6 separate regions of the Homo sapiens genome follow, and regions 2, 3, 4, 5 and 6 are each linked to region 1. Evidence: promoter capture Hi-C in 16 types of primary human blood cells and fetal thymus (Javierre and others, 2016). All regions are on one chromosome and are shown on one strand. The core of a region is centred on a gene start or on the middle of the fragment in contact, and the rest is flanking DNA. Distances in the headings are between cores, read along the strand shown.

The links. The method cuts DNA at HindIII sites, captures the fragments that hold promoters and counts their contacts. A CHiCAGO score of 5 or more calls a contact.
Region 2: a fragment that was not itself captured here is called in contact with the fragment with the promoter of GPR155 in region 1 in 5 of 17 cell types (total CD8 T cells, naive B cells, non-activated CD4 T cells and 2 more); the score reaches 7.6 in total CD8 T cells.
Region 3: a contact is called between a fragment that was not itself captured here and the fragment with the promoter of GPR155 in region 1, in 1 of 17 cell types (total B cells). The highest score is 7.1, in total B cells.
Region 4: a contact is called between a fragment that was not itself captured here and the fragment with the promoter of GPR155 in region 1, in 8 of 17 cell types (non-activated CD4 T cells, naive CD4 T cells, total CD8 T cells and 5 more). The highest score is 11.4, in non-activated CD4 T cells.
Region 5: a contact is called between a fragment that was not itself captured here and the fragment with the promoter of GPR155 in region 1, in 1 of 17 cell types (total CD8 T cells). The highest score is 5.6, in total CD8 T cells.
Region 6: a contact is called between a fragment that was not itself captured here and the fragment with the promoter of GPR155 in region 1, in 9 of 17 cell types (naive B cells, total B cells, total CD8 T cells and 6 more). The highest score is 9.6, in naive B cells.

The regions. Positions count from the first base shown.
Region 1 is chr2:174,484,653-174,488,572 of GRCh38, reverse strand. It overlaps GPR155 (G protein-coupled receptor 155), which reads left to right and starts at 1,544. Exons shown (of 16, transcript NM_152529.7): 1 at 1,544-1,700. GPR155-DT (GPR155 divergent transcript) reads right to left here and starts at 1,185. Exons shown (of 3, transcript NR_183819.1): 1 at 1,157-1,185; 2 at 1-538. RefSeq lists silencers at 1,404-1,583, 1,847-2,029 and an enhancer at 1,924-1,993. The HindIII fragment of the contact is 1,758 bases long and covers 763-2,520 here.
Region 2 is chr2:174,675,051-174,679,485 of GRCh38, reverse strand. It overlaps a transcript of WIPF1 not described here. Among named protein-coding and RNA genes, the nearest start is that of WIPF1, 79 kb to the right of the region's middle. The HindIII fragment of the contact is 4,768 bases long and covers 1-4,435 here.
Region 3 is chr2:174,656,312-174,660,459 of GRCh38, reverse strand. LOC124907907 (a long non-coding RNA gene) reads right to left here. Exons shown (of 2, transcript XR_007087310.1): 2 at 4,086-4,148. It also overlaps a transcript of WIPF1 not described here. Among named protein-coding and RNA genes, the nearest start is that of WIPF1, 61 kb to the right of the region's middle. The HindIII fragment of the contact is 8,270 bases long and covers 1-4,148 here.
Region 4 is chr2:174,625,914-174,629,986 of GRCh38, reverse strand. It overlaps a transcript of WIPF1 not described here. Among named protein-coding and RNA genes, the nearest start is that of WIPF1, 30 kb to the right of the region's middle. The HindIII fragment of the contact is 4,377 bases long and covers 1-3,858 here.
Region 5 is chr2:174,714,826-174,719,041 of GRCh38, reverse strand. No RefSeq gene overlaps it. Among named protein-coding and RNA genes, the nearest start is that of CHRNA1, 48 kb to the left of the region's middle. The HindIII fragment of the contact is 1,101 bases long and covers 935-2,035 here.
Region 6 is chr2:174,698,546-174,702,648 of GRCh38, reverse strand. No RefSeq gene overlaps it. Among named protein-coding and RNA genes, the nearest start is that of CHRNA1, 64 kb to the left of the region's middle. The HindIII fragment of the contact is 6,385 bases long and covers 1-4,103 here.

The DNA.
Region 1 (3,920 bases), core at 295-2,794:
ACTAAGATGGCCGAGATGATAGGAAGACACGGAAATTGCCATACAGAAATGTTTAAGATGCAAAGCAAGATAAAAGGTTGTAAACAAATGCTTGTAGATATCTTAAGTGGAAACATATATAAATATTTTAAAATTTGAAATAATTTTTATTTCAAAAGGCTAACTCAATTGCAGGATTTCTTCAGGTTTCAAAGTGGAGCACCATATTTGGGATACTATATATAGGTTTGTTGTCTGATGCCCATGGCAAGTTAATACACTGGGACACCAGGTTGCAGAAGAGAAAGAGGTTTAATCATAGGGCCACCAAACACAGATAGGAGGAAACCTCAAATTCGTCTCCAGGAGGACTTTGAGTCTCAGGTTCTTAAGGGTTTTAGAGTGGTCCCAAGTGTGGAGATCATTAATTGGCTGAAGAGTACAGGGCGAAGTCATGGGACAGCGAGATGAAGAAGCTGTATTCTCATGCTGATTCCCTTCTTCTGTGGCAGGGGTCTTCAAGCTGGCTGGCATCAGCTGTTTCGCTGGAATTTGGCGTCTGAAAAACATTTTAAGCAATTCTTAAAAAGCCTTACGACTCTTAACATCAGAAAGCCTATCTATAGGGACAACGGGATACAAATGTACTATCTAGCTCTACCCGACTTTCGGGTTACAAGGAAGTGGGTCAAAGTGTAGCCTGATTAATGCTTAATTATATTTTTGTCCAGAATTCTTATAAACCCTGTGAGGATAGTTTCAATACCTTTATTTCAAGAAGCTTTGGAAGTTTTCCATCAATGTAACCAGTTTCAGTATACTGAGTGGACATGCATGTAGTTCCCCACCCCCACCCCACCCCCGTACCGCAATAGAATAGAAGCAGTCATGGACGGGGCCCAGATTCTAAAACAAGCTCAGGGCTAAGGGTTTACATTTTAATCTCTTATGTAGGAACGTCAAGGTCACACTGCCTTGGTGAAGGTGGAAGGCAGGATTTTGACCCAGGTCTGATTCTAAGCCCTTGCTTTAAAACTCTATGCTATAAAAAGTCCTGGGCTAACCGGGAGCGAAACTGGCAGATCACACGAGGTTGAGGTTAAGCGGAAAGACAAGTCTGCTCTGCGTCTGTACTTGGGAAGAGGAAAAAAAACTGGACATCCCCCACGGCGGCTACCATTTTGTGGGAGCAGGGAAGCCGGAAGTCCCGCCCCGGAGGATCGCGGCTGGGAGGCTCCCAGCCGGCAGGGCGGGGCCGGGTACCCTGGGGCTCCGAGGCTGGAGGAGGGGGCGGGGACTGAAGGCGGGGTTGGGGAACGTGTGGCTCGGAGGCCCGAGGCTGTGGGTGGGGCCTGAGGGCGGGACGGAGACTCTGGGCTCAAGGCTCCTGGAAATGGGCGGGGCTCGAGGGCGGGAAGCGGCCCGTCTTGCTGGAAGTTCGGGGCTGGGGGCGGGGTCTGAAGGCGGGGCTGGGAGGGAGCGGGGCCTGAAGGCGGGGCGGGGGCGGGGCCTCGCGGCCGGCGAGGGGCTGAGCTGACAGGGCCGCATCGGCTTACCCCACCTTACTTTATCGGAACGTGCCTAAGCTGCTGCAGCTGGCACCCGGTTGCGCTCGGCGAAGAGGGCTGGGGGCGGGAGATGACGGTGGTCTTCTCCCTGCTTGGCACCCTGCGAGCACCAGCTCCCTTCTCCTCGCCACTCCAAGGTTGCAGACGAAGCAGGTGAGAGGGGCCCCTGGAGCGCGGACCTGCTGGGTCCTGGTTCTCCCTTGCGGGCACGGGGTACCCCTGCCTCTGCCCCTCAGGCCTGGGCACGTGGGCAGCCGCCGACCCTCTGCGCCCTGGCCCCGCGGCCCGTTGTCTGGACCTGCTGTCTCTGCCCCGCAGCGCCTGCCTGTGGAACGTGTGAGATCACCCGGGAAGGCTCGCGCGGGGGAGGGGGTGTCTCGTCCCCTCCGGAGACAGAACTGCCATCCCTAGTTTGGGAAGCTCCTCACTGCACGGGCGTCCACCCTGTCTTTCTTAGACTCTTCCCTTTATCCCGAGGGTACCCTCAGTATCTGGCCCTTCCGAAGGCTTCTGCCCAGGCACCTGGAGCACTGCGCCAAATTTTCTCCCTTACCCGTTTTTGGGGTATGTTAGTTACCATGACGTTGTGACTCCCGTGCCCTGGGAAGACTAGCGACCACCTTTTTCTTACGCCAGGCAAAGACCCCTGGCTGCCTTTCCACTTCCACAGCTGCCTTCCCAGGGGTTGGCTGGCAGCTGCTCTCCGAGCAGCCTATTCGGTTAGGAACTCTCTGCGCCCCTTATCTTGGAGGGCCACAGTCTGTCCCTGCAGACGAGGCAAGGAGGCAGTGCTCAGCGCTCCCTACCCTGGGTCTCTAGGGAGGACATTTGGCGCCCTGCAAGTAGGTAGGAGTGGGTGAATGGTGCGACTATTAATGTTGAAGAGTGCTCTAATAGTACCACACTGTATTACACTTATCCCACGGGATAAAGGATGTTGGATGTTTGAGAAATAGCCTGAGAGTTTAAAGCTTTCTCTATGAAGTTAGTCAACCCTCGCCTTCCCCCCGCATTTTCACTTAATAGCAGTTATTTACAGTATCAGTGGTTCGTTTATGTGATCTAAGCCAAATGTGATGTGGCTAGAAGCGGTTTGTAAGTACAGTAGCATTTCTTCAGTTCGTGCCTCAGCGAGTGGTCTTTTACTGTGAACGTGTTTGTTCTGTAACAAGCTTTGTTTTTATAGATAAAAAGGCTGGATGTAATTTTTTTTTTAAAACTTCCCTTGCTGTGGTTCCTGTTCATTTTAAAATATGCTTTAGAAAGCATATTATCTTCCCGTTTAAAAAAGATTAGGATGAAATGAAACTTTTAAAGTCATTTTGATTATTTTGACTTTACCTCAGCAGGTATTTCTTTTATAATACTGAGAAACGTTAAAAGAAACCTCATGGGGAGGGGCAGATTGCTTTTTTTTTTTTTTTTTCTTGAGACGGAGTCTTGCTCTGTTGCTCAGGCTGGAGGGCAATGGCAGGATCTCGGCTCACTGCAACCTCTGCCTCCCGGGTGCAAGAGATTCTCCTGCCTCAGCTTCCCGAGTAGCTGGGATTACAGGCATCTGCCACCAAGCCCGGCTAATTTTTGTCTTTTTAGTAGAGACAGGGTTTCACCATGCTGGCCAGGCTGGTCTCCAACTCCCGACCTCAGGTGATCCGCCCGCCTCGACCTCCCAGAGTGCTGGGATTACAGGCGTGAGCCACTGCGCCCGGCCCTTTTTTTTGTTTTGTTTTTTTGTTTTTTAATTTTTCAACGAATTGAAAGTTAATCTTGGACATTGCTACAACTATTTGACCATCACCCTGAGAAAAATGAAGAGCTCTGCCTTCACTGTTAACCATTTACTATCAAACCAAATTAAATTCAACTTATCTTAATTGTTTGGTATAAAACAAAAACTGATAAATTTATGACGCATCCCATCCCTCTTTTTTTAGTTGGTGGATCTTTTACCAGTTATGTTTGAAGAACTAACATGTTTACTTTTTTATCATTATTAGTAGTAAGACAACAGTTCCTAATAGCAATTGCTGCCGTTTTTTGAAGGCCTACTCTGTGATAAGCTGTATATAAAATATTCTATCCACACAATATCCCTCTAAGGAGGTCTTTGTTTGAGACAGGGTCTTACTCAGGCTGGAGTGCAGTGGTGTGATCATGGCTCACTGCAGAGACCTCCTAGGCTCAGGTGATCCTCCCACCTCAGCCTCCCAGGTAGCTGGGACAACAGGCACGCATGACTAAGCTCAGCTAATTTTTTGTAGAGACTAAGGTTTTGCCATGTTGGCCAGGCTGGTCTGAAACTCCTGGGCTCACACAGTCCACCTGCCTGGGCCTCTCAAAATGCTGGGATTACAGGCGTGAGCTGCTATGACT
Region 2 (4,435 bases), core at 976-3,475, 190 kb before region 1:
ACCTTTTTTTTTTTTTTTGAGACAAATTTTTACTCTGTTGCTCAGGCTGGAGTGCAATGGCATGATCTCAGCTCACTGCAACCTCTGCCTCCCAGGCTCAAGTGATTCTTCTGCCTCAGCCTCCCAAGTAGCTGGGATTACAGGAGTGTGCACCACGCCCGGCTAATTTTTGTATTTTTAGTAGAGATGGTGTTTCACCACGTTGGTCAGGCTGGTCTCAAACTCCTGACCTCGTGATCGGCCTATCTCGGCCTCCCAAAGTGCTGGGATTACAGCCGTGAGCCACCGCACCCAGCCCTGTATCTTCAATTTTGAAATGAGAGTAACACCCCTTCTGTAAAAGGATTGTTCTAAGGGTCAGATGAGGTGATGTATGTGAATTACTTAGCAGATTGGCTGGGACAGTGTCACTGCTCAGTATTTGTGGACTATTATTATTATTAGCATTAGCATTACATTTATCAGTGTTAGCCTGAACAAAATACTGTTGGCATTCCTTTCTCCATAGGTAAATACCAAAAAAGCCTAAACGCAGGAACTGCTTTCGATGTAAATTAACATAGAACAATAACCCCTTAGCTGTCTGTAGTTTACCAAGTGTTTCATGTCGGTCATCTCATATTTTAACAGCCCCCAAGGAGAGATCTCACTGAAAAGAATCTTAGTATTGAGGGGCTGCCAGCCCGCAGTATCTGCTTACCCAGGAAAACCTACTCTGTTGAGGTTGTCTGGACAGATAAAGGATGAGGAAGCAAAAACCAGACTTGTCACTTTTCCTGGCCCTTTGACACTGGGAAATACCAGGTTAATGTGTTGTGGCAGTCACACAGTGGCCATCATCAGTGTAGAGATGACAGTAGATTAGATTGCATGAGATATCTGATGTAAAACACCCAATAACACTTGGCCCCAGGCCAGGCTGCTTTGGTCACAACTACAGCACCCACGCCATGGGGTGAGGGTACCACTGCTTCTTCTCGTGGCCAGGGATCAGAAACTTTTGAGTCCTAGGAAGCATGCTCAGCATTACAGAGATTGCAGGTCACAAATATTTGTTGAGAAGTCAAAAATAATAGACTATGCTAATAGTCAATAAAATAAAAATGTAGCTAAACAGGAGATACAATTAGCTACAATGTTTGTTAGCCTTGATAAGCAGGGTTCACATTGAAGGAATATGTTGCTATGTAACATTTTAGCATTGCTTACTATGGGTATATATATTTTTCTTCTTCTAATAAGCCATCTTTCCAGCATAACTAAATTTCTTCTTTTAATTTCCTTTTCTCTCTCAATTACATTAATTTAAGTGAATGAAATCTTCAAAACTTTCTATGATCTGGCCCAAACATTTAAAAATATCTTTCTTTCCTTTCTTTCTTCCTTTTATTCTCTCTCCCTCTTTCCCTTTCTGTAACATTATCACTTACTGTATGTTATTTGAGTCATTTGATATTCACTTACCCTGAGAGGTAAGTTCTGTTTATTTATGTGGAACCTGAGGCTTAGAGAACTTAGGTAACTTGCCCAAGGTCCCACAGTTAGTGACAGAGCTAGTATTCAAATGTGGAGCAGTCTGATTCCAAGCATCGCACCTTTAACCTTTAATTTCAACATCAGCCTTATTATGCACTACTTTTCATATACTGGGTTCCAGCTAAACTGCACTTTCCTTTCGTATGCTGTTGCATTGCCATTCCTCCTCTCCACACTGCCCCTTCTCTTCATTTGTTTGTTGAACGCTATAAGAATCTTCAGATTGATCATCATTGCTTGCTGAAAAGTCGAAATAATAGACTTTGCTGATACTCAGTAAAAGAAGAATGTGCTAAAATTAACAGGAGACACAATTACCTACAAATTTCACTAGTTTAGGAGCTTTGATAAGCATGGTTCACGTTGTAAGAACATGCTTCTTAACAAGAGCCAAAATGTTCTCTTCTCCATTTGCTGATTCTGCCTTCTCTTAGTTTCCATCGCTATTGTTCTGGGCTTCACATGTGGCTTGAAATTCACCCTATCCTGTATTGCAGTCACTTGCAGGCATCTCTTCTTCCTTGTTAGATTGTAAGCTCTTTCAAGACAATCACTTTTTAAAAAATCCTTTTGTATTTTCTCAAAACAGTAGATTCTTGTATAGTAGGTTGTCAATGTTTGTTAAAGGATGGTTTATTTATTCCACTCTGTAAGATTTGAGTGAATTTTTCATGAAAGCCAAACAGATCTTTGTTTTGCAGAAGAGTATCTTGTTTCTGAAGATGCCAAGAAACAAATTTGATCCTAAGAGTGGTCCTTTACGATAAGTGATGTATATAAGATGACTTTTTTTTTTTTGAGACAGTTTCTCACTCTGTCACCTAGGCTGGAGTGCAGTGGTGCCATCAGTTCGCTGCAGCCTCGACTTCCCAGGCCCAAATGATCCTCCTACCTTAGCCTCCCAAGTAAGCTCGGATAACAGGTGTGCACCACCGTGCCTTGTTTTGTTTTGTTTTGTTTTTTGTGGAAATGGGGTCTCCCTTTGGTCTTGAATTCCTGGGCTCAAGCGATCTTCCCGCCTTGCCTCCCAAAGGGCTGGGATTACAGGTGTGAGCCATTATACCTGGCCACAATGTGACATTTTAAAATTCTTATACATAATTAGCTTTTTATGTGTTCCAAATTAAAAAATAACCATGATTCTAATAATTAAGAAGTGGGAAGTTTTGTTCTTGTGGGGAAAGTAGAAGTTATTATTGTAGAACCTAAGAAGTGATATTTCCTGGTCTAATACCTGTATCTGATTCACTTCCACATAAATGAAGTTCAACTCTTTTGCCCAGGAGTTTTGCATCCCTTGCTTTGGCTGAGAAGAGGATAAAACCTAGAAAGAAGTCTAAGCAAGACCGGGTGTGGTGGCTCACTCCTGTAACCCCAGCACTTTGGGAGGCCAAGGTGAGAGGATGGCTTGAGTCCAGGAGTTCAAGAACAGCCTGAGCAGCATGGCAAAACCCCATCTCTACACAAAATACAAAAATTAGCTGGACGTCGTGGTGCACACCTGTAGTCCCAGCTACTCAGGAGACTGAGGTGGATCACTCAAGCCTAGGGAAGTGGAACTGTGATTACACCACTGCACTCCATCCTGGGCAACAGAGTGAGACCCTGTCAAAAAAAAAAAAAAAAAAAAAAAAGAAGGGAGGGAGGAAGGAAGGAAGGGAGGGAGGGAGGGAGGGATATCACACTGTATCCTATAAATATGTACAATTATTATATGTTTCTTAAAAATAATAAAAGCAGCCAGGTGCTATGGCTGAGCCCAGGAGTTTGAGAGCAGCCTGGGCAACATAGTGGGACCCAGTCTCTACAAAAAATACCAAAAAGAAAAAAAAAAAAGCCAGGCATGGTGGCTGTATGTGCCTGTAGCCCAGTTACTCAGGAGGCTGAGGTGGGAGGATCGCTTGTGCCTGGGAGATGGAGGCTGCAAGTGAGCCATGATCATGCCACTGCACTCCAGCCTGGGTGATAGAGTGAGACTCTGTCTCAAAAATAAATAAATAAATAAAATGAAAGCAAAAAAAAAAAAAAGAAATCGGGTAACATCTCTTCCCCACGCCTTCATGCCCATCCTCCCAACTCTTACGGCCCACCCTCCCACTCCTCCCCTCACACCCCCGCCTCCACCCCACACACAGAGGAAACAAGCAAAAACAACGTATTGTCTCTTAGAACTTGGAAAAGGTTTTTGTTAACCACAAGTCCAGGTGCTCAGTATTTGTAATTTATAGTCTTTGCTTCTATGTTTTTGCTGAAAATATGACTCTTTATCACTCTTTAAAAATTATATTGTACTGTTGACCAAGCATGGTGGCTCACACCTGTAATCCCAGCACTTTGAGAAGCTGAGGCAGGAGGATCACTTGAACCCAGGAGATCGAGACCAGCTTGGGCAACATAGCAGACTCTGTCTCTACAAAAAATAAAAATTAGCCAGGCATGGTGGCATATGCCTGTAGTCCTTGCTACTTGGGAAGCTGAGGCGGGAGGATCACTTGAGCCCAGGAGTTTAAGGTTATAGTAAGCTATGATCATGCCACTGCACTCCAGCATGGATGACAGAGCGAGACCTGTCTCTAAAAAAAAATAAGTAGATAAAAATAAAAATTACATTGTAGTTGTAAATTTATTCAGATTACAAAAGCATATGTACTTGCTATAAAGAAGACAAGAAAATGGAAATATATAAAGTTAATAAATTTCTCCTATCTCCCTTAAATACTAACCCTTTGAAGTAATCAATATTATCAATTCCTGAACTTTCTCCTTGCTTATATAACTATGTATAAGTATATATGCACATATATAGTTTTTTCTCCTAAAAATAGAATTATATTACTTATTAATACATTATGCCACAATTGCGTTTAATATAATAAAGCATCATAGACATTCTCTCCAG
Region 3 (4,148 bases), core at 618-3,117, 170 kb before region 1:
TGACTACCTGCCAAGTAACAGTCAGTAGTAATAGTAGCAGCAAATGTTTATAGAGCACCTACTATGTATCTTGCTGCCTTTTAAAATTATTATTATTTTACAGATGGAGAAACTGAAGCACAAAAAATTTAGGCAACCTGCTTAGGGTCACGGAGCTAGTAAATGGCAGGACCGGGGTTTGGACCCAGGCAGTCTGGCCCTGGAGTCTGTTTAGAATACACTTCTTTATAGCGAAGAAGAATTCCACCCACTGTGGTTTCCACATGGTAGTCTGTGTTCTAATCCTGATAGCCACAGAATGGCCTAATTTTACTAACATAGGACAGACCTGTAAATATTTGAAGACAGTTATCACATCTCTCCTGGTTCCAAACCACCTTGCCAAGCTCTTGGGGAGCAGTTCTACCCTGGATCTCTCTGTTTCTCCCAGAAAAGCACAAAGAGTACTGTATAAATTACCATCCACATCCAGGTACTGGTGAGAGGCAAGGGCGCACTATTAATAATTACGCTGGAGTGACAAGCATAAATGAGGACTGTCCTGGGCAAACGAGGATGTGCTTGACCCTACTCCCAGGCCACGGTGGAAAGGCACTGCTTGGAATGCCTTCTGAAGATGTGTTCAAGTGGAATATAGGAAAGTTAAACTTACTATACGCAGATAAATTATGGATGGGAAATCGTTAGGTTTTAGAAGTCTGTCTGCTTTTAGTCAACCTTAGTGCAGTGGAAAGGTGCTCAATGAACGACTGAGTTCTGTAATCACTAATGTGATCCTGGATGAGTCATCTCCTACCCCAAGTTCTCAGTTTCCTCATTAGCAAAATAATGTTGATAATCCGGAGTCCCTTCCAGTCCTGAAACTATGATCCTCTGTCAACCTTCCCTACATAAGCAGTGGTCTGCATCCTCACCTAGAAGCCACCAACATGGAACTTGGAGTTTTTGATCTGTTTCCTGTGAGTTGAGCACTCGTATACCATTACTCGCTAAACCCTAGAGGTAGATTTTTAGAGTCCCAGCAGGATCACCCCTATCTAGCTTGCTTTTGGAGTGTTGATGAAATTGTCCCATGCACTATATTCTTTAAATAATGCTTCTCCTTGAGACACCCATGGATTTTGTTAATACACAAACAGGAAACAGGAAACAGAAAACTGAGCCTCCATTGAAAGTAGCTGTTGAGAGCTGAGTGTGGTGGCTCATGTCTGTAGTCCTTGCTACTCACACTCAGGAGGCTGAGGTAGGAGGATTGCTTGAGACCAGGAATTCAAGACCAGCCTGGGCAACATAGCAAGACCTCATCTATGAAAAAGAGAAACTACCTGTTGACTTTCTGAGGAATGGCTTTATTAAAAGATTTACATTTTATATTTCCTAAAACCTGAATCTGCAAATAATTTCAGTGTTTTACATAATTTATCTTACTAGATCCTCAAAAATGTCTGTGTACAGTAGATATTATCTCCATTTTCCAGATATTGAAACAGAGGCTTAAGGGCTGAAATGACTTGTCCGAGGACATCTGGTAGGTGGTGGTGGGACTGCAATTCACATTCATGTCTGCGGGATCCTTTTCAGTCATCTTTCTACTATTCCCATAGTTTTCATTTTGTGTATGTTTTTTGTAAGTGTAGAACTCATTTTTTTCAAGCAGAAACAAGGCTTTGCTGGATGCTGTGGGGTGTACCTGCCTTCTGTGGGGGGCTCCACCAGACCATCCCGCTATAGAACATGGTCTGAACAACCCTGCACTTTCTCTAAGCTGCCTCACACTGTTTTACCCATTTCAAGGAAATGGGATGCTCATGAGATTCTGCACAATTTCATTCTATGTGAGCTTGTTGCATTTAATTAACTTCACTATGATTCCAAGTCACTTGGGCAAATCATTACAGGGCTTGGAGCAGTGGCATGAACTCAGTCTTTGCTAGGAGCCTTGTTTCCCTTCTCCCTAAGGCTCAGCCATGACCCTCTCCATCCTGTTTCTCACCTTGCCCTGCTGAATTCCAGGCCCACCTGTATCAGTAATGGACTTGGGTCTTCTCTAGATGTTACTTGCTCACTTTTATCATTCATCTACTCACCCAATTAAATATCTACTAAATAAAATTATGTGAAAGGGTTCAGCCTAGTGGCTGGCGTATGAGCAGAACAAGTGTTCATCTGTACTACAGACAAAGCATAGGTCTCTTTTTTTGTGTGGGTGTGAGGTTATTGGGTTGACCATGATAATCTCTCAGGTTCCTTTTGTTGCAGAAACCCGCTGCTCCTAGGCCAGCTTCTTCTCTCTCCTAGAAGGCGAGAATTGGGTTCCTGGCTCATTTTCCCTGCCTGTGCATCCTGTCCTCTCCCCACAGCCTAATGCCTCCACCAGAAGTTACTCCACAGAAGAAGAAAAGTTAAAGAATAAGTTTTTCATTCTCTAGGGTTTCTAGGTCCCAGGGAACATCCGAGGGGGCATCTAGTCAAAGAGCACTTTTATCTAGGGAGAAAAAAAAGAATAGGAAATATTTCTCTCTCTCTTTTTTTTTTTTTTTTTTTTTTTTGAGACAGAGTTTCGCTCTTGTTGTCCAGGCCGAAGTGCAATGGCACAATCTTGGCTCACCGCAACCTCTACCTCCCAGGTTCAAGCAATTCTCCTGCCCCAGCCTCCCGAGTAGCTGGAATTACAGGCATGCACCACCACGCCCAGCTAATTTTTTATTTTTTTATTTTTTATTTTTTTTAGTAGAGATGGGGTTTCACCATGTTGGTCAGGCTGGTCTCAAACTCCTGACCTCAGGTTATCCACCTGCTTTGGCCTCCCAAAGTGCCAGGATTACAGGCGTGAGCCACTGTACCCAGCCTTCTGATTTTTTTAAGTCTAGCTTTTATTCTCAGCCATGTTTGAAAGGAGTTCATGTTCAGTTTCACTAGTGGACAGGACATCGACATTAATGCTGCAGGCCCCTTTTCTGTCACTTAGTTCTGGAGCTTTGAAAACCCTGGGAGCTGATTTTTCCCTTCCCAAGCATGCAGCATTCAAGCCGCTGGCTTGTTCCTGAATTCACTTCTTTACTTTAAATATCTATCACATAAAATTTATTAATTGGAGGTAGGTTTAAGAGGCATGCTATTCTAGACATACATTGATAATTTTACCTACTAAACATCATTCAGAAATTTCAAAGCATTAGTCCAGTATAATACGTTAGAAAATATTCTTGGCATTTTGTTTTATGGTTTTTTACAAAAGACAGATACTTCGCTTAGGCCATAGTTCTTACATAATGATTTTTTTCTTTCAGGAAGAAAAGCAATTATTAGAAGTAGCAATCCAAGATTCCATCAAGCCAGTATAAATGTAGCAGTCTGTCTTCTCATTCTGAGATGTGCATGCTAATGTTGCTAGCTAATATTTAGGATTCAAAATATAGTCTAGCCAGAAAATATTCTGGATTATGTAACAGTGTGTATCAGCTGTCTCTAGGGGGTGTATGTGCATATGTGTATAGTGTAACTGATTGGATGCCTGGGTTAAAGGCACTGAGTAGCTGTCTATTTTGTTTTTACTAGTTCACTGACAAGTCATTAACTGTCTGTATAAAAATTAACCATTCTGATCTTTGGATGGTATTTTTCACACTGAACTGAACATTTGGTGCCCAGTTAAGCCAGGAGTCTCCATAGTATTCCAGTTTCCCCTGAGCACAGCAGCCTCTATGCCCTCATCCACAGCTGTAGATCTGCTCTGCTGGCAAGTAAGAGGAAATAGAACAGCAGGGATAGGTTGGCCATGGGATTCTAAGCAGTTTCCATTTGTGTGTTAGTGTTCACATCCCCTCCTTGGTTGGACTTCTTAACTTTAATGTCAAACCTAGAATCTCTTTTTCACAAAAGAGTAGGAATATCTTTTCATTGGAGAATATCTTAAAACCAAAGAAACTGACAGAGGAAAAATGTGATGTAATGTAAATGGAAGCTGGTGGTATGAGTTCCTCTATTTCCTGTTAGTTCTGTTGCTATTTTCTTGACTCTGCTCTTCCTTAGAAGTGTTTCTTAGAGACATTGAGATGTCTTTGCATGAAACTTATTCTGTGAAGTAATTCTTCATTCCCTTTTATTCATTTATTTAGTTTATCACAGTTACATATTGCTATGTAAGA
Region 4 (4,073 bases), core at 421-2,920, 140 kb before region 1:
TATGCATGTATTATACATAGAGATTCATTTGGGGGGTTTGCTAGTAAACTGTAATTCTTTCAGTAAGTCACTGCTTTACTGAATGGTGAAGATTTGGAATGTCTTCTTTGATTTCCAGGCCAACAATGGATAGATTTGGTCGTCCTTGAAGCATTTAGAGACCTGTAGAATGAACTTAACTTCTGAAAACTGGGTGCGGGGCCAATAGAGGGGCTGCTCAATACCTCACCAGCCTGCTACGCGGAAGGCTAGATGGAGGGCTGCTAAAGGAAGAGAACTGCTGTTCCACCTCCGCCTCCTCCCTGCAGTGTGGCTTCTTAGGCAAGTCCCAGTTTAGAAGTCATCTAACTAAGTGAACATTCTTGAACTGCCACCAGACCTCTCCTAAAACTTTTTTCTAAGCAAACAATATATGCTTTCAGACTTTCTCTTCTTCCCTCTTCTTTTCCCCTTCTCTCCACTCCCTACTTTCGCCTCTGCCATTTCATGCCCATCACCTTGTGAAAGCTCAGGGCAGAATTTACCTACATGGACAGCATGCTTCCTTCCCTGGCCCTGTCTCTGAGCTTTTTATTCCTCTTCCCCAGAGCATTTAATAGCCTTCCCTGCAAAACAGAGGAAAGTCAAGGCTGATGAGCATAGTTATCAGAATAAAACTGTTTAAGAGGTTTTATGTAAGAAAAATAATTTGGAAAATAACAATGTTTTTTATAAGATCCTGATGAATCAGGAAGGATAAATAGTTTACTTTTTTTTGATAGAGAGAGACTCACTATGTTGCCGAACTCCATCTGGAGTGCAGTTGCTATTCACAGGTACAGTCATGGCACACTGCAGTCTCGAACCCCTAGGCTCAAGCAATTCTCCTGCCTCAGCCTCTCTATGTTTTAAAGACTTCCTTTAAGGGTCCATAAGGAGGTAGCTGTAAGGGAAGGGGAACTAAAAAGGCCAGAGGATAATTTTCTCTAAAAGGCAAAAATGTTAGGTTATTCAAAAACTATTTTTTTCCTCTACTTCAGTGCCAGGAACATCTGGCCTCAGGAAAAGTTTAGGAAAGATGCTGTTGTCATCATTTAAATCTTAAAGAGGTAGGAAAAAAATAATCTTGGATTTTTTACAACTAGAAGGGACCTTAGAGAGTTATATCCTTTTATTTTTAGATTTGGAAACTAAGGCCCAGAGAGATTAGGTGATTTGTCTATGGTCAAAGTAGCTCATTAATGATGGTAGAGGGTGCAGAACAAGGCCCCTGGCTACACACTGGTGACATAAGGGGGAAATGTTGAAGGGCCCCAAGGACTTGGGAATCTGAAAGTAGGTGCACCTCTGGGATCTACAGAGGCCAGATCTGTGCCTAATGGGAGTAGAGTAACAGATTGAAGATTTGAGGAACTTCCAGAACTCCAGCAAAGTGAGCTCTACGTAATTCCTGGAAGACAGCACAGCCATATGGTTGGAATTTTGTGGGTAGAAAGCTAATCCATCCTACCTGGAGAAAGGTTGTGGGCAATGAACTGGTCCTCATGGAGCAGAGAGGAAAAATTTCCAATGGTTGCCCAGTATTGGCCTGGAAAATAGGTCCTGAATCTTGTGGACATGAGTGTGGATTGGTAAGTATGGATGAAGATCTTTTGTGAAGTGTCTGTTGTGATGCATTATCAGGGCTCACCACGGCATGGATTAAGCAGTCCTCAGAAGGGTTAGCCATCCTTAGCACTGATTCCAACACCCCTGAACCACATTCTGAATGCTAAGTCAACTTCCTGGGTACCATTAGCTCAGAAAGGTATATTCTGGACAATGGACATGGTCACTGGAAAGAAATGGCATTTTTTTGTAGATTCCGGGGTGCCCAGCAGCCTCTTGTGAATTTTTACTCAGACATTCTGAGTCTGATCCCTCTGGCTCCCAGATAAAAGGGAGATGTGGGGACCTCTATGATAACGCTCTGTGCTTGATGTAGTGTTCTACCCCTCCCCAAGAATGCCACTCTTAGGGGTCTTTTCAGGGTAAACAGCAGCCTCTCCTAAGTGTCAGGCTTACTTTGTTGTTGCTCCTCTTCAAAATGCCACAAACATTATTAAAATTAAAAAATGAGATGTAATACATGGGTCCTGCTATTAGAAATCACAAGGCCTGGCCAGGTGTGATGTCTCATGCATGTAATCCCAGGACTCTAGGAGGCCGAGATGGCCTTGAGGATTGCTTGAGCCAGGAGTTCGAGACCAGCCTGGGCAACGTAGGAAGACCCCATCTCTACAAAAAATTAAAAATTAGCCAGGTTTGGTGGCATTCACCTGTGGTTCCAGCTAATCAGGAGGCTGAGGCAGGGGGATCACTTGAGCCCAGCAGGTCAAGGTCAAGGCTGCAGTGAGCCATGATCACACCACTGCACTCCAGCCTGGGTAACAGAGGAAGACTGTCTCAAAAAAAAAAAAGAAAGAGAAAGAAAGAGAGAAGGAGGGAGGGAAGGAAGGAAGGAAGGGAGGAAGGAAGGGAGGGAAAAAGAGAGAAAGAAAGAGAAAGGAAGAAAGAAAGGAAAGAAAGAGAAAGGAAAGAAAGAAGGAAAGAAGAAAAGAAAAAGAAAAGAAAATCATAAGACCTTTTTTTGGACACTGGATGTTTTCAAAGTTTTTTCTCTTTGTTTTTCTTGTTTGGCATTTTCCCTTAATTCAGATTTATTTATTAAGTATCTTCCATGTGGATCTTATATTCAAGTTAAAAGATGTGGACAAAAAACAATAAATCTAAAAAATACTAGGTGATGTATATTAGGAATTTAGAAGGGATACATGCTGTGGAGAAAGAAGTCTAGCGGGGCTAGGAGGAGCAGAGCACAGTGGTGGAGGATGGGTGTAGGTGAGCTGGTAAGGGCAGCTGTCATGGAGAAAATGGTGAGATAATTCACCATGTAGCCACATGGGGAAAGCCTGAGGACGCAGAAGCGGAACATGCCTGGAGTATTCAAGGAGTAACATGGAGCCAGTAATTTGGAGGTGAGATCCTGGAGGGCCATGTTGGTCATGGTAGGACTCTGGCTTTCCCCCCAGAGTCTGGGAGTGAGGGGAGGATTTTGATCCAAAAAGAGACAATGATCTGACTTTAAATTTAACAGCTCCCTTTGGCCACTGTATTGAGAATAGACTGTGGGAGCACAAGAGTGGAAGAGAAGGACCAGTTAGGAGGCTATTGAAATACTCCAGTGAGACATGCTGGTGCCATGGACAAGGGTTAGCAGTAAAGATGTTGAGGAGTAATTAGAGTCTGGTTATTTTGAAGGTAGAACCAGCAAGATTGGCAGTTGGATTGAAAAATAATAAGCAAAAGAGAGGAGTTAAGGAAAATAGGAAGTGGCCTAAGTGTAGTAAGAATAGAAATGCCATCAGACTGAGATGGGGCGGGCTGTGAGTACAGCAATTTGGGGTGGAGGGGAGATACTAAGACTTTTGTTTGGGATATAGTGAGTTTGAAATGTCTATGAGACAGACAGCCAAGTGGAGATGTCAAGTGGGCAGTTGGATATGTGTGTCTGAATATAGGAGTTAGAATCCTAGAAAAAAGTCATCTTTCTTAATGGTCTTGGTTTAATATCACTCCTAAATTCATCTGTAGCTTCTAAAACTTCCATTAAAAACATGGAATGTGACTCTGCATAGTGATGTGTTCACTGGTTTGATTTCTGGGACTGAAATCAGAGAGAGAATGTTCTTTTGGGTAAACAGAAGTGAAGAATCAGGATTCTTGTTTCGAACTTTGCTTCTTATTGCTTAAAACTTAATGATTCCATAATTCTTATTTTAAGAAAAAGAAGTTTTTTTAAACAAAATGAGCAAAAGCAATACCTTAACAAATCAAGCTTTCCTCTGCTTTTATGTCAAGGTAGTTGAGAGTATTGTGAGACGGTTATAATTTTTATGTTTATGTAAATGTCATCTTAAATATAATTGAAATTGCTTTTTGTCATTGAAACAGATATTATGTAGTTTTACAAATTTTAATGAATTAAACTATGCCGTCTTCCTGTAGAAAAGGAGATACCGCTGGCCCTCCATATTCACAAGCTCTGCATCTGT
Region 5 (4,216 bases), core at 236-2,735, 230 kb before region 1:
GGAAGACCGAGTTTCACAGGAACACTAGAGGAGGGATGAGGCGGGAACCCAATCCTGGGCCTGGCTTAGTCTCAGGAGCAATGCAGAGCATTGTCTCCGACAGAGGCAGCAACATGCCGGTCATGCTGGTTACTCATGCACTGAACCCCCCAGAGAGGCCACGACGGGGGAAAGGTGGTGATACAGCTTGCAGGGGGGATATGGCCAGGAGGGTTATGGTGGTGGTTAGGGGGTAACATACCAAAAGTTAAGTCCAGGAGGTTAATTCCAGATGAGTAAAACCAGGTGAATGTGGCCAGGTGGAGAAAAACATGAAGTTAAGACTAAGGTCAGGAGATTAAGGCCAGCTGAATAAAGCTAGGTAGTCAACATCAGGTGAGTAAGGTCAAAAGGTTAAGGCTAGGTGTGTAAGACCAGCTGGATAAGCCAATTGGGTAAGGACAAATGAGTAAGGCCAGGAGGTTACACAGTGTGTTAAGGCCTGGTGAATAAAGCCACGTAGATAACATTGGGTGGGTGAACCCAAGAGGTTCAGGCCAAGAGTTTAATGAGTCCAGGTAAGTAAAACCAAGGAATTAAGGCCAGGTGGGTAAGCCAGGTTGGTAATGCCAGGATATTAAAAACAGAAGTTTAATGCCAGATGAGTGAGGCCAGGTGGGTAAGGCCTACTTGATATTTGCACCTGTGTCATCCTCTCCTCACTGAACTGACATCTGTAGCCCTTAGGAAACTGGAAGTGATGGAGTGTGGCTTTTGAAGCTAGGATAGTTCCTGTTCTCTTGGATCACTCATTCCATGGAAAGCTGGCAGCCATGATGTGAGGACACTCAAACAGCCCTGTGGAGAGGCCCTGATGGTGAGAAATGGAGGCCTCCTGCCTGCGGCCACGTGGGTGACTCATCTTGGAAGCAGACCCTCCAGCCCCTATCAAGCTTTCTGATGACTGCAGATCTGGGCAACATCCTGACTGCAACCACATGAGCCATCCTGGGACAGATGTACCCAAACCAAGCCACTTCCAAATTCCTGACCCATGGAAACTGTGTGGGATAATACATATTTATCGTCATTGTAAGCCACTAAGTTTTGAGGTTGTTTAATTCATAGCAATAGATAGCTAATACAGTAGTTAGAATTTTTTCTAGAACATTAAAAAAATTGCCTCTTTTCATGAACCAGGTTAGTCATGAATATGTTTTTGAAGGGATCATGAATCCTACATAAATTAATTTAGTTCCATATGGAAAGATCATTGGCATTGTCACCTATAATCCTACCCTCCACCCCTAAAGCAGTGCCCCTCCAGCCTCCTCGTAATTGTGCTCGCTTTCCTAAACTTCTCCCCACCTCCTGGAAGCTAATCCCAAAGGACAATGAAATACTTTAATATAAAGACCTCACTGGCTTACAATGGTGAAGTACAGCAAGAACCAACTAAGTTAGCAGGAAGTTATTTTAGTCTTCCTTGAAAAAGAAAATCACTATGTTGCTGATTTAATTTCAATTTGTGGTCAACCACAACACTCCACTGAAGTTCTGTACAACCACAGTGCAGTTTAGTCAGCCTTGCCCCAATCTAAAACGTAGCACTTGCTTGTCATTCCATGCTCGCTGCTGTCCACCTTTGAAAAGAACCATTAACTGCTCCACCTCCTTCCCAAGGTGGAGCCCAAGCAGGGCAGTAACGTGGGGACCCTAGGCTTCCATTTCCGCCTGAAGAATGGGATAGCACACTAGCCCCCGCCCCGTGAAAATTAAGGTGCAATGTTTAAACATTTAAAACCCTGTACATGGGGTGACCAACCATCTGGGTCGGGACTTCTGGGGACAAAGAAGGGCTCCTAGGTTGCTGAAATTCCAGGGCTCAAATCAGGCAAGTCCCAGGCTACCTGTAAAGTGCAGGTTGGTCAATGGAAGCTGTTAATAGTAACACCATCCAGGATCTGTCTGCTAATGCAAGCGTCAGTGTCAACACTGTGTACAAGGGGTGCATATCGGCCCACTGGGAACTGCCTCCTCCCTGTGTGTTCAAGCTTCCTGCAGCAAAGCCTCAGGATCCAAGTCCCTGCTCTCCCAGGCAAAAGGCCAACATGCCAGTCTTCACTCGAGGGACCTTGCTAGTTCTCATCTCAAGAACCACCCCTGTCTGTAACTTCCCCCACATCCTGCCCTGTGTAAGTTTGGGTCTCCTCTAACACTTAAGATGTTAAGGCAGTCCAAGTTCATGCAACAAATTACATCATCAAACACAATTATCTGTACAATAATATACAAACACAGATTCAGTTATAACCCCTAAAAATCTTGTGTTTTTAAATATAAAGACATTCTTAAAGGTTAATATTTAGTGAATGCTATAAAACCTCAGCCAGGCACAGTGGCTCACACCTGTAACCCCAGCACCTTGAGAGGCTGAGGCTGGGAGAATTGCTTGAGGCCAAGAGTTCAAGACCAGCCTTGGCAACCTAGTGAGACCTTGTCTATACTAAAAGAATTAAAAAAAAAAATTAGCCGGGCATGGTGGCACACGCTTGGTCCCAGCTACTTGGAAGGCTGAGGTAAGCAGATCTCTTGGGCCTGGGAGGTCAAGGCTGCAATGAGCCATGGTCATGCCACTGCACTCCAGCCTGGGTAACAGAGCAAGACCCTGTCTCAAAAACAAACAAACAAAAAACCTCAATCATACCAACACAAATATTGACTTGAAAACATTATTACAGTTATACCATCTGAAACACGCCATTCACGAGTCTTTCTTTTTTATATTTCATAGCATGTAGAGTATAACCTAGAGGAACCTGATGACAGGCATTAAAATGCAAACTTTTATTTTTTCAAATGTATTAATTACTGAAGTTACTATTAATTTTAAAATGAGTGCACTGGACTTATTTACCTGTGAAGTCTTTATACTCAAGATACAAACTTATCTCCCAGTAAGGAAATGTCAAATTGCTAAGTACATTGACATATAAACCAATAGCAAACATACTCCTTGCTACAGCTAAACTTAATTTTTCTTAGAAAAACTATATCCAACCATTTGGCTCTGTAGTTAATGGAAATAAAAATTGATTATTCTTTTCCGTCTTATATTAGATAAAACTGTACTATTAGTAGCAGCAATAACAGTAAAACAAGTTTCCAAAACACATCGTGCTGCTAGACAAAGCTGAACTAATTAAAAATGAGGACTATAAAATTGAATAGAATGATATTACTACATTTAGCAATCCTTACTAGTGCTCACCATGTACCAGGTTTTACAAACGCAACTGATATAAGTTCCTTAGCAGCTCTAAGAGGGGTCCTATTACTGCCATCTTTTTTTCCTTTCTTTCTTTTTTTTTTTTTTAGACAAGCTCTTGCTGTGTCAGCCAGGCTGGAGTGCAGTGGCAGGATCATAGCTCACTGCAGCCTCAATCTCCTGGACTCAAGTGATCCTCCCAAGCAGCTAGGACTACAGGTGCATGCCACCACGCTTGGCTATTTTTTTTTTTTTTTTTTAGAGATGGGGTCTCACTATGTTGCTCAGGCTGATCTTGGACTCCTGGGCTCAAGTGATCCTCCCAGCTTAGCCTCCCAAAGTGCTGGGATTACAGGCGTGAGTCACCACACCCACCCCATCATTTTTTAAAATGCACAAGTGACCACGATTCTCAGGATTCTGCAGTTGTCTGCATCACCCACAGATCAAGTGCAAACTCCTAGACTAGACAGAGATGGCTCAGGAAGGAGACATCACCCCCTGGCCCACCTCACACCACTTTCCTTCCAGCTTCCCGTCCCAGCCCCTCAACACCCCCAGCCACACAGCCCTGTCCCACCTCCAGTTGCACCTCCTAAGACTCAGTCCAGGTTGACTCTTCCCCTGGAGCCCCCAGGGTCATGGAGACCAAGTCAGGCACCAGTTCTAGCTAGGGAGACAAAGGAAGGAGGGGTGCAGAGAGTCCAGTCCCCGTGAGGAAGGGATAGGGGCCAGCACACAGGAGGAGGAGCTGCCAGGCTGGGCACAAACCCAGAGGAAACTCAGTGAGGCCTGTGCACCCTCCTGCCTCCTCTCAGCCCTCCTTGCTGGACTCTTCTCTCCCCACTTCTCATTTACTGTACAATTTACTAACTTGTTTTCCACTGCCTTTCTCTCCCCATTAGAGTGCACACCCTGTAAGGGCAGGAATTTTGCCTGGTAAGAAAACTGCTGAAGCAAGGGTCCTGC
Region 6 (4,103 bases), core at 536-3,035, 210 kb before region 1:
GGCTTCAGTGAGCCATGGTATAACCATCACCACTGTGTAATTCCAGAAAATTTTCATCATCCCATCTCCATTATATTTTTTAAAGATTTATTTGGCTTTTTTTTTCCTCTTTGAGACAATGTCTCGCTCTGTCGCCCAGGCTGGAGTGCAGTGGCACGATCTCGGCTCACTGCAACCTCCCCAACCCGGATTCAAACGATTTTCTCCTGCCTCAGTCTCCTGAGTAGCTGGGATTACAGGCACCCACCACCATGCCCAGTTAATTTTTGTATTTTTAGTAAAGACTGGGTTTCACCATGTTGACCAGGCTGGTCTTGAGCTCCTGACCTCAGGTGATCCACCTGCCTGGGTCTCCCAAAGTGCTGGGATTATAGGCATGAGCCACCGCGCCCGGCCTGTTTGGCTTTTAATGAATCAAAGTACACTTGACTACATCCCATTAAATATAATTATTCTGTTTTATAAATACTAATAGTATTAACTTTGTGTCAGACACTGTTTTGAGTACTTTATAAATTACAAACCCCATGTGGAAAGTCTTAGCAGCAGCAGCAGCAGCTTCATGCTATTGATGAAGAAACTGAGACATGGCAAAGACAAGACTCTTGCCCAAGACTACACAGATAGATGTGGCAGAGCTGGGATTTGAACTCAAGACGTCTGAGTCCATACTCCTCAACACTCTCTGCTACCTCTTGAGCAGAGAATTAAAATTTGCCAACCAACCAACAGAAACAAACAAAAACACACAACCTTTAAGTACGAGTATGAAACGTCCCATTTTCTTCATCCTTTATTTATCAGTCACTCTCCCCTCGGCTGTGTTTTTTTTTTTTTTTTTTTTTCCAGACAGTGTCTCGCTCTGTCACCCAGGCTGGAGTGCAGTGGCACGATCTTGGCTCACTGCAACCTCCGCCTCCCGGGTTCAAGCGATTCTTCTGCCTCAGCCTCCTGAGTAGCTGGGATTACAGGCGCCCGCCACCACGCCCAGCTGATTTTTGTGTTTTTAGTAGAGACAGGGGCTCACCATGTTGGTCAGACTGGTCTCAAACTCCTGAACTCAGGTGATCCACCGCCTCGGCCTCCCAAAGTGCTGAGATTACAAGCATGAGCCACCACGCCTGGCCTGGCTGTGATTTTTTCTAAACACGAATGAACTGCTCACCACCAGCCTGCACTAGGCTCTGTTGGTCACATAGAAGTCAAGAAGGCATGGTCCTCGCCCCCAGGAAGTGAAGAGTATGAGACATCAATAGAAGGGAGAGAAGGTGATACATAAACATGGACATCCAGACATGGGAGGGTCTGTCTGGCCAATGGGGATCACAGACAGCTGTGACTTGTTCCAAAAAGAATCATTAATAATGATACCATTCTAGGGAGACCAAAGGAATTGTTTTCATTCTTCAAGATGAAAAATAGATTCCTTAACAAAGACTGAATTTGACTGTGATTTGGGAAAATGTTCTCTCACTTTAAGCTCTTTCTTTTCTTGATTTCATTCTCAGATCACTAAAGACACACTGATCTCTGTTTACCTTAGTAATGCGACCTCCCACATTTGAATGAACTATACACTGGCATTTATAGTGGGCTGTTTTTAGATGATAACAGCACCCTTTATTTGCTAGAAATGGTGACTCTGAACAATAGTATGCAGATTCGATTTTGGTAATTGAAGTTTTTTTAATGTACAATACTAGGGAGTTTGCTATGGAAAAATTTCTGAAGAGAATCCTTTAGTAAAGCAAGAAATTTTCAAAAATCATATTTTTGAAAATATGATTTTCAAAATCACCAGACCATGCGAGCAATTTGGGGCCTGCAGATGTGTCATCACCCTAATGTCCCTAGCCAATGAATGCTCAACAAATGTTGGAAAAATTAATTAAATTATTAATTTGCTTATTTTTTCCCCTAAGTTCTGATAGGTATGTCAGATGATCTTGATTCAAGGCACACCTGAATTTTGGCTACTTCATAGTCTATTCTTTGCAGCTCTTTGCAAAATAAATTGCACATTCTATGTCTGAGGCCTGGACTCAGCCAATATCTCAGGGAGACTTTGACCCTCATGAAAACCTGGGCACTCGGAAATGACCCTTGAATTGGCCTTGCTGCCCTCATGAGGTCCCAAGGCATTTTTATAAGCACAGCTTTCATCACTGGAAAATCCTGGGTTTATTTAAGGATCTGAAGAACACTCCAGACTGGCCTCGAGTATCTGTTCCTAAGACATTTAAAATATTATCTTTTTTCCCCTACTAATCATATAATTTAGGAGAAATTCATTTTGGAAAATAAGGTACTGCTGATAATACTTTTGTTGAGTTGTGATGGGAATTTTTGGTTGGTGGGCTATATTTGGGGAGGGTGGTTAGATAGCACAGTATACTATACCGTAGTTTGAGAAGAAATGGAGCAAACATACAGAAATATTTTAGTTGAATAAACTGGGCAGCAGCTCCCTCTTGTGTTGAACAGTAAGTACTACAGACACTTAATTAAAGTATGGGGAAGCATCCCTTCATGCACATTAACACTCCAAAACTGAGAGCTTTTCCCAGTAATTTTAAGTCCAAGAAAAGCATAGTGCTCAGTAACTTTTTTTATTTTACGCTATTTTATTTTAATTTATTTTAATCTTTTTGAGACAAAGTCTCGTTCTGTCGCCCAGGCTCGTGTGCCTTGGCATGATCATGGCTCACTCCAGCCTCAACCTTCTGGGCTCAAGCAGATCCTCCCACCTGAGCCTCCTGAGTAGCTGGGGCTACAAGTACGTGCCACCATGCCTGGTTAATTTTTGTATTTTTTGTAGAGACGGGGTCTCCCTATGTTGCCCAGGCTGGTCTTGAATTCCTCAGCTCAAGGGGTCCGCCTTCCTCAGCCCTGCAATGTGCTGGAATTCCAGGTGTGAGCCACCACGCTTGGCCAACTCTTGATTCTAATAGCACATCCACTGCCATTCATTTTTATTTAATTAATTTTTCCAACATTTGTTGAGCATTCACTGGCTGCCAGGAACTAGGGACATTAGGGTGATGACACAGCTGCAGGCCCCAAATTGCTCACACGCTCTGGTCCATCTAATGCCACTTCTTCTCATAATGCTGGTCCCCTGTCAACGGTGACCTGTGCCTCCTCAAACTGCCCCCTTCCTCTTCTCATCTCCCACCCCTACCCTACGACTAAGTCCAGCTCAGGCCTGTTCCCCCTGCCTCCCCTTGGTTGCAGCCAGTTGTTTTCTTGTCTTGTAACCCTTCCTGGATAATAACTCCTTTGAGGGCAGCAGCCCAGGGTCATCCAGTCTCAGTTTCCCTGCAGTCCCTCGTTCAGCATTAGTCCAGTTCATATTCAAATGCGTATTTGTTCCATTTAATTTAATTCAAACAAATAAAAAAGCAACAGATCCCCACAGCTATTAATAGCTTAAAAAGGGTTCCAATGAAGAACTGTATTTGACCTCTTTGTATGCATAACCATCAAAAGTGGAGTATGTAGCTATTGTTTTGTTGCTGCTGTGAATCCAAAATATCTGAGACAGGCCTCAACCAATTTAGAAATTTACTTTGCCAAAGTTAAGGATGCGCCCGTGACACAGCCTCGGTGGTCCTGACACCATATGCCCAAGGTGGTTGGGTACAGCTTGCTTTTATATATTTTAGGGAGACATGAGACATCAATCAATATGCGTAAGATGTATATTGGTTCAGTCCAGTAAAGCGGGACAACTAGAAGGAGGGGCGGGCTGGGGTGGGAGGGGTGTCTTCCAGGCCATAGGTAGATAAGAGACAAAAGGTTGCATTCTTTTGAGTCCTTGATCAGCCTTCCACTGAGTCTGGCTCAGTGAATCTGCATTTTTACATAGACAGCAGGGCAGAGGAAGCAATCAGATATGCATTTGTCTCCAGTAAGCAAAGGGATGACTTTCTGTCTAGCACCTGTGAAGATCAGCTATTATATTAGTCTACATTGCCAGGGTGAAATTCAACAGAACTGTTATAAGGTAAAAATCTTGAGGCCCACATGGAATTTCCTTGTGGGCAAATTGTGAGGGAGGTAGGTATCTCTTTAATCTCTGTAGCTATCTTATTTAGAAATTA